3 separate regions of the Homo sapiens genome follow, and regions 1 and 2 are each linked to region 3. The links are contacts of gene promoters, found by promoter capture Hi-C in blood cells and fetal thymus (Javierre and others, 2016). All regions are on one chromosome and are shown on one strand. The core of a region is centred on a gene start or on the middle of the fragment in contact, and the rest is flanking DNA. Distances in the headings are between cores, read along the strand shown. Region 1 overlaps DDI2 (DDI proteasomal shuttling factor 2). Region 2 overlaps DDI2 (DDI proteasomal shuttling factor 2). Region 3 holds the start of FBLIM1 (filamin binding LIM protein 1).

Evidence for each region. The method cuts DNA at HindIII sites, captures the fragments that hold promoters and counts their contacts. A CHiCAGO score of 5 or more calls a contact.
Region 1: a contact is called between a fragment that was not itself captured here and the fragment with the promoter of FBLIM1 in region 3, in 1 of 17 cell types (M1 macrophages). The highest score is 5.2, in M1 macrophages.
Region 2: a contact is called between a fragment that was not itself captured here and the fragment with the promoter of FBLIM1 in region 3, in 1 of 17 cell types (naive B cells). The highest score is 5.2, in naive B cells.

What each region holds. Positions count from the first base shown.
Region 1 is chr1:15,662,038-15,664,968 of GRCh38, reverse strand. It overlaps DDI2 (DDI proteasomal shuttling factor 2), which reads right to left. Exons shown (of 10, transcript NM_032341.5): 10 at 1-2,931. Among named protein-coding and RNA genes, the nearest start is that of RSC1A1, 3.8 kb to the right of the region's middle. The HindIII fragment of the contact is 520 bases long and covers 1,204-1,723 here.
Region 2 is chr1:15,645,282-15,648,133 of GRCh38, reverse strand. All of the region lies in intron 6 of DDI2 (DDI proteasomal shuttling factor 2), which reads right to left. Among named protein-coding and RNA genes, the nearest start is that of RSC1A1, 13 kb to the left of the region's middle. The HindIII fragment of the contact is 3,164 bases long and covers 1-2,852 here.
Region 3 is chr1:15,757,468-15,760,167 of GRCh38, reverse strand. FBLIM1 (filamin binding LIM protein 1) reads right to left here and starts at 1,373. Exons shown (of 9, transcript NM_017556.4): 1 at 1,320-1,373. The HindIII fragment of the contact is 4,964 bases long and covers 1-2,700 here.

The DNA.
Region 1 (2,931 bases), core at 214-2,713, 95 kb after region 3:
TCTTTATGTGTTAATAGCTGAAGCCCAAACTGTGGGATGAAGGCTATTGGCTGTCTGGAGCCCTGAACAGGTATGAGTGGAAATAATTCTTAACAGCATCAATGAGCAAAATCTATAACCTATGTAAAGCTGCTGTCTGGTTACCAAGCACATCTTTCCGCTCAAGAACCAACTTCAGGGAAATGGCACAAATTACACAGGAAAATCTTCTCTCTCTGGTGAAGAAACAGAGACCGCCCTTGTAGTTAAGTGCTGACCGCAGAACTGCCCACTACTGGTTATGGTAAAGGAGCTGTCCGGTAAAGGTGCCCATTACTGGTTATTACTGTTGGCAACCAGAATTCACAGGGATTTGATGGTATTCTTAGAAGTTAACCCATAATTTCTGCATTTCTGGAGCTCTTAATTGAATAAAAGCTGACGATGAAGGTTCACTATTGTAATGCTCCTTAATATACCCTTTGCATTCTAGAGCTGCTAAATTTAAGTCATCCAAAATATTAACAGTGTCAATAGCTTTTTTTTTTTTTTTTTGGGTGAGACAGAGTCTCACTCTGCCGCCCACACTGGAGTGCAGTGGCGTGATCTAGGCTCACTGCAACCCCCATCTCCCAGGTTCAAGCAATTCTCCTGCCTCAGTCTCCCAAGTAGCTGGGATTACAGGCGTGTGCCACCATGCCCAGCTAATTTTTTGTATTTTTAGTAGAGATGAGGTTTCACCGTGTTGGACAAACAGCTTTATTTTTATAAAAATGATGGGCAAGAAGATTTTAAAAATCAAAAGCAATTATACTTTGGCCTTTATGTAGTCCCAGCTACTCAGAAGGATGATTAAGCCCCAGAGTTTGAGTCCAGCCTGGGCAACACTGCAAGACCCCATCTCAAAAATAAAATGATGGAAGGGACAAGGATATTTGGCAAGTGGGTTAAGCTCATTCAGAGTATTCCTAACAGGAATTCATGTACAACTATAGATCTATTCCTAAAAATAAATATACATATACATACACAAAAAGCTATCCTAATGAAATCTTTTCCCGACTGATATTATATATTCCACTTGGAACTGTTTCCCAAATATCCACACTGAATTGTGTGCCAAGGTTCGTTCTGCTTACATGGAAGGCCCTTTAGGAGGGAGTCTATTGTCATCAGTAAGTTCCCCCACCCTTCCCACCCCGTGGTTCCAAAGATTTATAAGCTTAGAATACATTCCCAAACCACCACCCATAAAGCAAATACAGGGTCCCATTGCATTGCTACTAGATTTTGCATCAATCATAGCACCAACTATTTAATTACAATCACAGCTTTAAGTCAGCTGACAGAAATCCTATGAGCAGTTTCCTAGTGCATCGTACATCTTTGGTGTAGGGCAGGTGAAAGGGTCTACAATGTGCAGCTGTCTAAAAGAACATCTTAAAGACAACCTGGCTGACCTGTTGTTCTTCACGCCCTCTGAAAAGCAGTAAACTACAATTCCTTCTGTCAACCATTTCCTAACTACATAAAGGATCATGATGAATCTACGTGACACGCCATCCCATCACTAAAGTCTTATAACATACATACAAACATCATAGCAAAAGGAAAGAAAGAAGTTGGATGGGGTAGAAAAAAATGTCTCTAAGTGCCCCTAAATTAAAATTTCAAAAACTCCTGAGATATGAGCCTCCATTTTGATTGTGCTCAATGACTTAAAATTTGATGAAACAAACAAGCTTACAAAGAGTCAGACTTCAGACAAAATCATTTAACACTAAGTTGAGAAATCACTCTTTCGAAGCTTCTGTTTCAAACATGTTACAAACTATAATCTAGAATCAGAAATTATGAATCTCAAAATTCTTTTCAATAAAACCAAGACTTCAGATTCCTGCTAGGTACCCAAAAGAGCAGTTTGCCAGGAAAGAATTATCTAAAACCTATCCAGTAGGATTATTGCACAGTGGGGCCCACAGGACAATGATTTCCAAGGGCTAGTCCTTATATAAAAAAAGGCCACAATAAATACATCTATATATTATGCCCCACTCTAACTTGACATGGTAAACACAAATAAGATGAATTTTGCTTAAAAAAGAAACTCCTGAGGAAAGAAAAGGATGGAAAACTCTACCAAGGCCACTTAAGTCAGAAACTGTAATTACTATTTCCACTGCCACAAAGGACACTCTCCAAATAGACTGACCGTTCCAAGCACCAAGATTAACCAGTGACAAGGTTATCACACTTAGTATTTCACTCAGATCACAGCTCACACTGAGCGTTTGAAGAACTTCCTGGCAGAAGAGTCTAGAAAGGAAATAAGCTGCTGGCAATGAATCCATTCCTGAACTTAATTCCACCATTAGTCATTAAGGGTTGAGGTGTTATCAGTGAGATGCTAGCAAACCCAAACTCTAGCAAATTCCAGTGTTTAGGCCATTATTTTTCCCTCACAGTTCTTGACATCTGCAAATGGAATTATGGTTGTTCTGTTCTTTTAAGAATCTGGGTAGCACCACGTTTCACTTGCATTGTAACTCCCCCACAATATCCCATCCAATGTAATAAGGATTCATGGCAATCCATGCAGCAGCCTGTGATGCACAAAGTAGCCCAAGATTTAAACCCTCCTGCTCGCCCTATTAAAATGTCAAATCCTAAGCACACAAATAAAAACATACCACTCTACGATAAGATATTCAATTATTCTCCAATTTCCTGTTATAATTAATGAATCATGATACACAGAGCACTGGGTAGAATTCCAAACACCAAATTATGTGGTCAAAAGTTTCTAAATTGACAACTGAGCCAGCAAACCATACCTTGCCATCAGCACAGACACACAGTCACAGTGTGGAGAGTTCATCTGTTTTTAGCTGGATGGGTAGTGGGATTTCTCATGGCTTCTGCTTTTCAAAGCATTTACTCTCATTCTAAAAC
Region 2 (2,852 bases), core at 94-2,593, 110 kb after region 3:
TCTTTATCCTACACAAATCAATAAGAGAAACACAAAGACCCTAATAAACAGACATACATATTTCAAAAGAAAGGAAGAGCAAATGTGCAGAAAAACTATCATTTACAATGAAAGAAAAGTAACTTACAATAAGAAACCACTCTTTTATTTGTAAAAAAAAATTTTTTTTGAGAAAAGAGTATTGCTCTATTGCCCAGGCTGAAGTACACTGGCATGATCTCGGCTCACTGCAACCTTTGCCTCCCGGGTTCAAGTGATCCTCTCACCTCAGCCTCCTGAGTAGCTGGGACTACAGGCGTACGGTCATGACAACCGGCTAATTTTTTGTAGTTTTAGTAGAGATGTGGTTTCGCTATGGCCCCCAGGCTGGTCTCAAACTCCTGAGCTCAAGCAATCTGCCCACCTTGGCCTCTCAAAGTGCTAGGATTTCAGACATGAGCCACCACACCCACCTTATTTGTAAATTTAAGAGGGAAAACTAATATTCCTTAACAGTATAGGACACTAAGATGAATATTCATTCAGTGGTGGATAAACTGGATTGGTACAGGTTAGCAACATATCAAGAGTCCTAAAGCATCCGTAACTTTGATTCAGTAGTTTCACTTATAGGAATCTTGACTAGGGGGAAAAAATCAAAATGTGCAGAAAACTATACTGCCATGTTCTAATAGGAAACATCACCAGCCAGGCGCAGCAGCTCACGCCTGTAATCCCAGCACTTTGGGAGGCTGAGGCAGGCGAATCACTTTGAGCTCAGGAGTTCGAGACCAGCCTGGGCAACATGGTGAAACCCTGTCTCTACTAAAAATCCAAAAATTACCCGGGTGTGGTAGCAGGTGCCTGTAATCCCAGCTATTCGGGAGGCTGAGGCAGGAGAATCACTTGAACCTGGGAGGCACAGGTTGAAGTGAGCCAAGATTACGCCACCGCACTCCAGTGTGGGCAACAGAGTGAGACTCTGTTTCAAAAAAAAAAAGAAAAAGAAAAAAAGAAACAACCCAAAAGCTGATCCTTAAACCTGCAACAGAATGCTATACATTTATTCATTTATTTAAATAATTCTTTTGAAATTCATGGTGACATTGGGAAAATGTTGTTTCACTTTTTCTTTGAGCAGAATATAAAATTTTAAACAGAAATAATCACCTTTTATAAGATAAAAAAGTGCACAGAAAAAAGACCAGGAGATATGCCCAAATGATACTGGTGGTTGATTCTCACTACAGGAATTTAAGGGATGTTTTTTTCCTTCATCTCACATTTCTATACTTTTGAAGTTCTCTACAGTAAGCATCTATTAAATGGATAATGGAAGAAGAAAACAAAAACAATTCTGATTAGAGATGAATGACTGAACACATGCATTTATCTACATTTACTCCTAAAACATTGCAAAAAAGGTTTTTGGGTTTTGTCTAAGGCACACATTTTTTTTTTTCTTTAGAGATGGAGTTTCACTCTTATTGCCCAGGCTGGAGTGAAATGGCACAATCTCAGCTTACTGCAACCTCTGCCTCCCAGGTTCAAGCGATTCTCCTGCCTCAGCCTCCCGAATAGCTGGGATTACAGGCACCCGCCACCACGCCCGGCTAATTTTTGTATTTTTAGTAGAGACAGGGTTTCACCATGTTGGCCAGGCTGGTCTCGAACTCCTGACCTCAGGTGATCCACCTGCCTCGGGGTCCCAAAGTGCTGGGATTACAGGCATGAGCCACCATGCCCAGCCCTAAGGCATACATTTTTAAGGCCAAATATAATAGTAGAGACCACAGGAACAAAATTTTAGAGCTAAAAAGCAGATGACAGTGAGGAAAACTGAGCAGTAACCCAACTGACATCACAGAACTCCTATGGAGCATAGGAACTGGTCATAAATACTTCTGCAGATAGGAGGAGAGATGGACCCAAAGCAGCAAGGCTGGCGGGAAGGCCGCAGAGGCACAGTTAGCCCTTGGGGTGTCCCTCCCGCACTCTGCTAGGCCAGGAGACCCTTCACCCCAGTAGCAGACTAGAGGCTTATTTTCTGGAGAGGGTGAAACAGAGGCACTCTTAACAGAGGTGAGCATGGAGGGAGACAGGGACAGAACAAGTATCCAACTGAAAACCAGGGGGAATAAATAAAATCCAACTGAGATGCCAGCCTTTTTCTCCCTCCCAACTTTCAGACCCACCCTACAGTGAAGGCCACAAGAGCCATGGCTGCCTACCCAGGTCATTTACCAAACAAGCCTTTTGGTGGCCCACTCTTTTTTTTTTTTTTTTTGAGACGAGTTCTCATTGTCATCCAAGCTGGAGTACAGTAGTATGAACACAGCTCACTGCAGCCTCTATCTCCCTGGCTCAAGCAATCCTCCTGCCTTAGCCTCTCGAGTAGCTGGCACCATCGGCACTTGCCACCACACCCGGCTATTTAAAAAAATTTTTTGTAGAGACGAATTCTCCCTATGTTGCCCAGGCTGGTCTCAAACTCCTGGCCTCAAGCCATCATCCCACATGAGCCTCCTAAAGCACTGGGATTATAGGTGTGAGCCATCCCGGCCAGCCAGTGGCCCACTCTTCAATGTGAGCTGATGCCAAGGATCACAAGACATTTATGAAAACCATCTAAAGTAAAATACAAACAAATACAAAATCCAACACAAAGGTTGGAAGACAAAGTTGAAGAAATCCCACAGAAAAACAAAAGAGAAGAAAACTAGAGGACAAGTCCAGGAGAGATTATCCTACCTGAATAACAGACATTCCAGAGGGGAGAAAATCATCGTCAAAATAATTCAGAGAAAGTCCCCAGAACAGAGGGATGTGAGCGTCTAGACTGCACAGGTTACCAAGTACCTAGCACAGTATAT
Region 3 (2,700 bases), core at 124-2,623:
CACTGCAACCTCCGCCTCCTGGGTTCAAGCGATTCTCGTGCCTCAGCCGCCGAATAGCTGGGATTACAGGCGCGCGCCACCACACCCGGCTAATTTTTGTATTTTTAGTAGAGACGGGGTTTCACCACGTTGGCCAGGCTGGTCTCCAACTCCTGACTTCAGGTAATCCGCCCGCCTCGGCCTCCCAAAGTGCTGGGATTACAGGCGTGAGCCACCGCTCCCGGCCAGCTTTGTTCTTTAATGACCGGATAAAGCAGTCTACCTTTGGGTACGGAATTAAATTTAGGCAGAAGTGGCGGGGTGTGCCCCAACCCCTCCCACCCTGCAACTTAGGGGAGGGGTTCCCTCAACCTCTTTCCCACCCCAGGGAAACAGAGGAGGTAGAGAGCTGGGTTCACACGCGGCCCCACTTCTTTCCTGCGGGGTGACCCCGAATAGGTCACAGAAACTCTCTGGCCTCGTTTTTTCATAAAGTGAGAATGAGTGTGTCCCTAGGGCGGCTGAGAGGATATATAAGGAAAGAAGACTCAGGGTCTAGGCCCTTGGAAGGTGCAAAGAGAAGGACAGCTGGTTAGGCAGCAGCTGAGAGGGAGAAGCAGCCCGGGGGCTGGGCTCGGCTGGGGGTGCCTCCAGGACCCGGACAGAACCTACAGCGTCATTAAGAGCAGGAATCTGGGCGCGGCCCCAGCCTCTCCCCGGGGTCCTCAGGCTTGGGTGGGAGGTGAGGGGTAGGGGCCGACGCCAAGATCATCCCAGGGCACACACCTGGGTATCGCCCATCTCCACACCTTCTCAGCCCCCGACGGGCGCGTGAGGCCCAGAGAGGAGCAGCCCCGGGACCCGTCCCTCCCCTTGCCTGACCCTGGCTAGGAAAAGGGGCCTGGAGCGCCCCCGGGCTCCGGAAACGCGGGACCCTCCGCAGGCAGCCGAGCAGGGCGGCCGCCGGGGTCACCGCTGGGCGCCGCCGGAGCTTTAATTCGATCCATGTGCGGGACTCCGGCCTTTTGTGCGGGAGCTTCCGCCCTGCGCGCCGGGTCCCCGGCTCCCGCTCCCGGGCTGGGACTCGGCCCTCCGCCGGCCTCACTGAGCCCTCGCCCCGGACCTGCCGACTCCCCGACTCCGGGGAGAGAGACCAAGAGACTGGGACGCAAAGGGCGTGAGGACCGCACCCCCCACCCGCAGGCCCCTCCAGGGGCGCCGCGCCGGGGGTCCCGGCTGGCGACCGAGCAGGCTCCGGCCGAGCACTGCCGGCGCTGTCACCTGTGTGCACCGGGGACAGGGACGGAGGGACGCGACCCCCACCCACCCGGCCCGCTTACCTGGGCCGCCCGCGCCCCGGCGGCTCCGATCCGACGCCCGAGCCAGCGGAGCCCGGAGCCGCTGGGCCTCCCGTCCCCTCCGCCCGTCCGCCCTCCCCGCCCCCTCGGCTCCCTCCGCCCCGCCGCCCCGCGCCGCTTTACCATAAAAGGTGAGGCTCGGGGGGAGGGGGCGCGGGATTCCCGCCCCGCGGAAGCGGCCCCTACCTGCCCCCCAACCTGCCCGGCCGCGCCCCGCGCCGCCCCTTCCCCCTCCCTTTGTTCCCTGGACGACGCCTCCCCTCCCCCTTGGCACAGGCCAGGGGGTGGGAATGGGGGGGAATGGGGATGGGGGCGATGGGGGAATGGGAGGGATGGGGAGTGGGGGTAGGAGAATGGGGAGTCGGGGTGGGTTTCCTTCCCTCCCCGCTGCCCATCCCCTCGCGTTCTTCATGGACCCCGAGTGGTCCCTGCCGTCCCCCTTCCCTCGCTCTCCTGGGTTGGCAACCCCACCTACCCTGTCCGGCGGAGGTGAGCGCTTACTTTGGCTCTGGGATCCGCCAGGGTCTTGCGTCAAACCGACCAGGGTTCTGCGGCCGTTTACTAAGCGTGAGACCCGGAGCAGTCACGCCACCTCCTGAGCCTCAGTGTCTTCATCTGTAAAGTGGAGGTAGCCACTGCCTACCTCTCCAGGTTGGCCTGAGGATAAAAGGTGACAGTTACAGCCAGGACTGTGATTAATAGTGGTTAATATATGCTGGGTTGGGGGCTTTTTCCGGGAGTGTTCCTGAGGGTGGGGGTCTCGGAGACCCCCAGTGGAGCAGGTCACCTTGTTCTGCTCTCCTGAGCGGTAAGCCCTCTGCAGGTGGGTCCCGGTGTCCCGGGGGACAGGCCGCTCCAGGAGCTCTGGAAGGCAGGGCCCGGCTGGCCCTGTGGCTGAACCCCTCCCTCCACATCCAGTGACCCTCCCCCTCCCAGCTGGAGCAATTAGGACGGGAGCGGGAGGGGAGGCAGAGCCTGGACTCTGGGGCCCGGGATGGGGCCGGGATGGACTGCCTGGGTCCCTGGAGGCCTCAGGGACATTGTGGGGAAAGGAATCTGGGTCTGATTCAGAGGCAGACAGATTGTTCTTTTGATTAAAGCCACAGTGGCTGAGGCTTGAGGAGCGCTGGACCCAGCGCCATCTGCGGGGTGGCCAGACAGGATCTGGCCCGTCCTGCAACCCCTCAGCTACAGTCACCCCTCCAGGGTGGCTCTGGGGCTGTTTCTGAGGGAGGCTGGTTTATGAGGGTCAGAGGAGGCTGCCTCCGCCCTCACCCACTGATCATCGCCCCTCCCATCCCTCTTGTCGCCCCTTTTCCCATTTGATCCTCTCAGCCAAGCTGCAGTAACAGCAGCAGTCCCA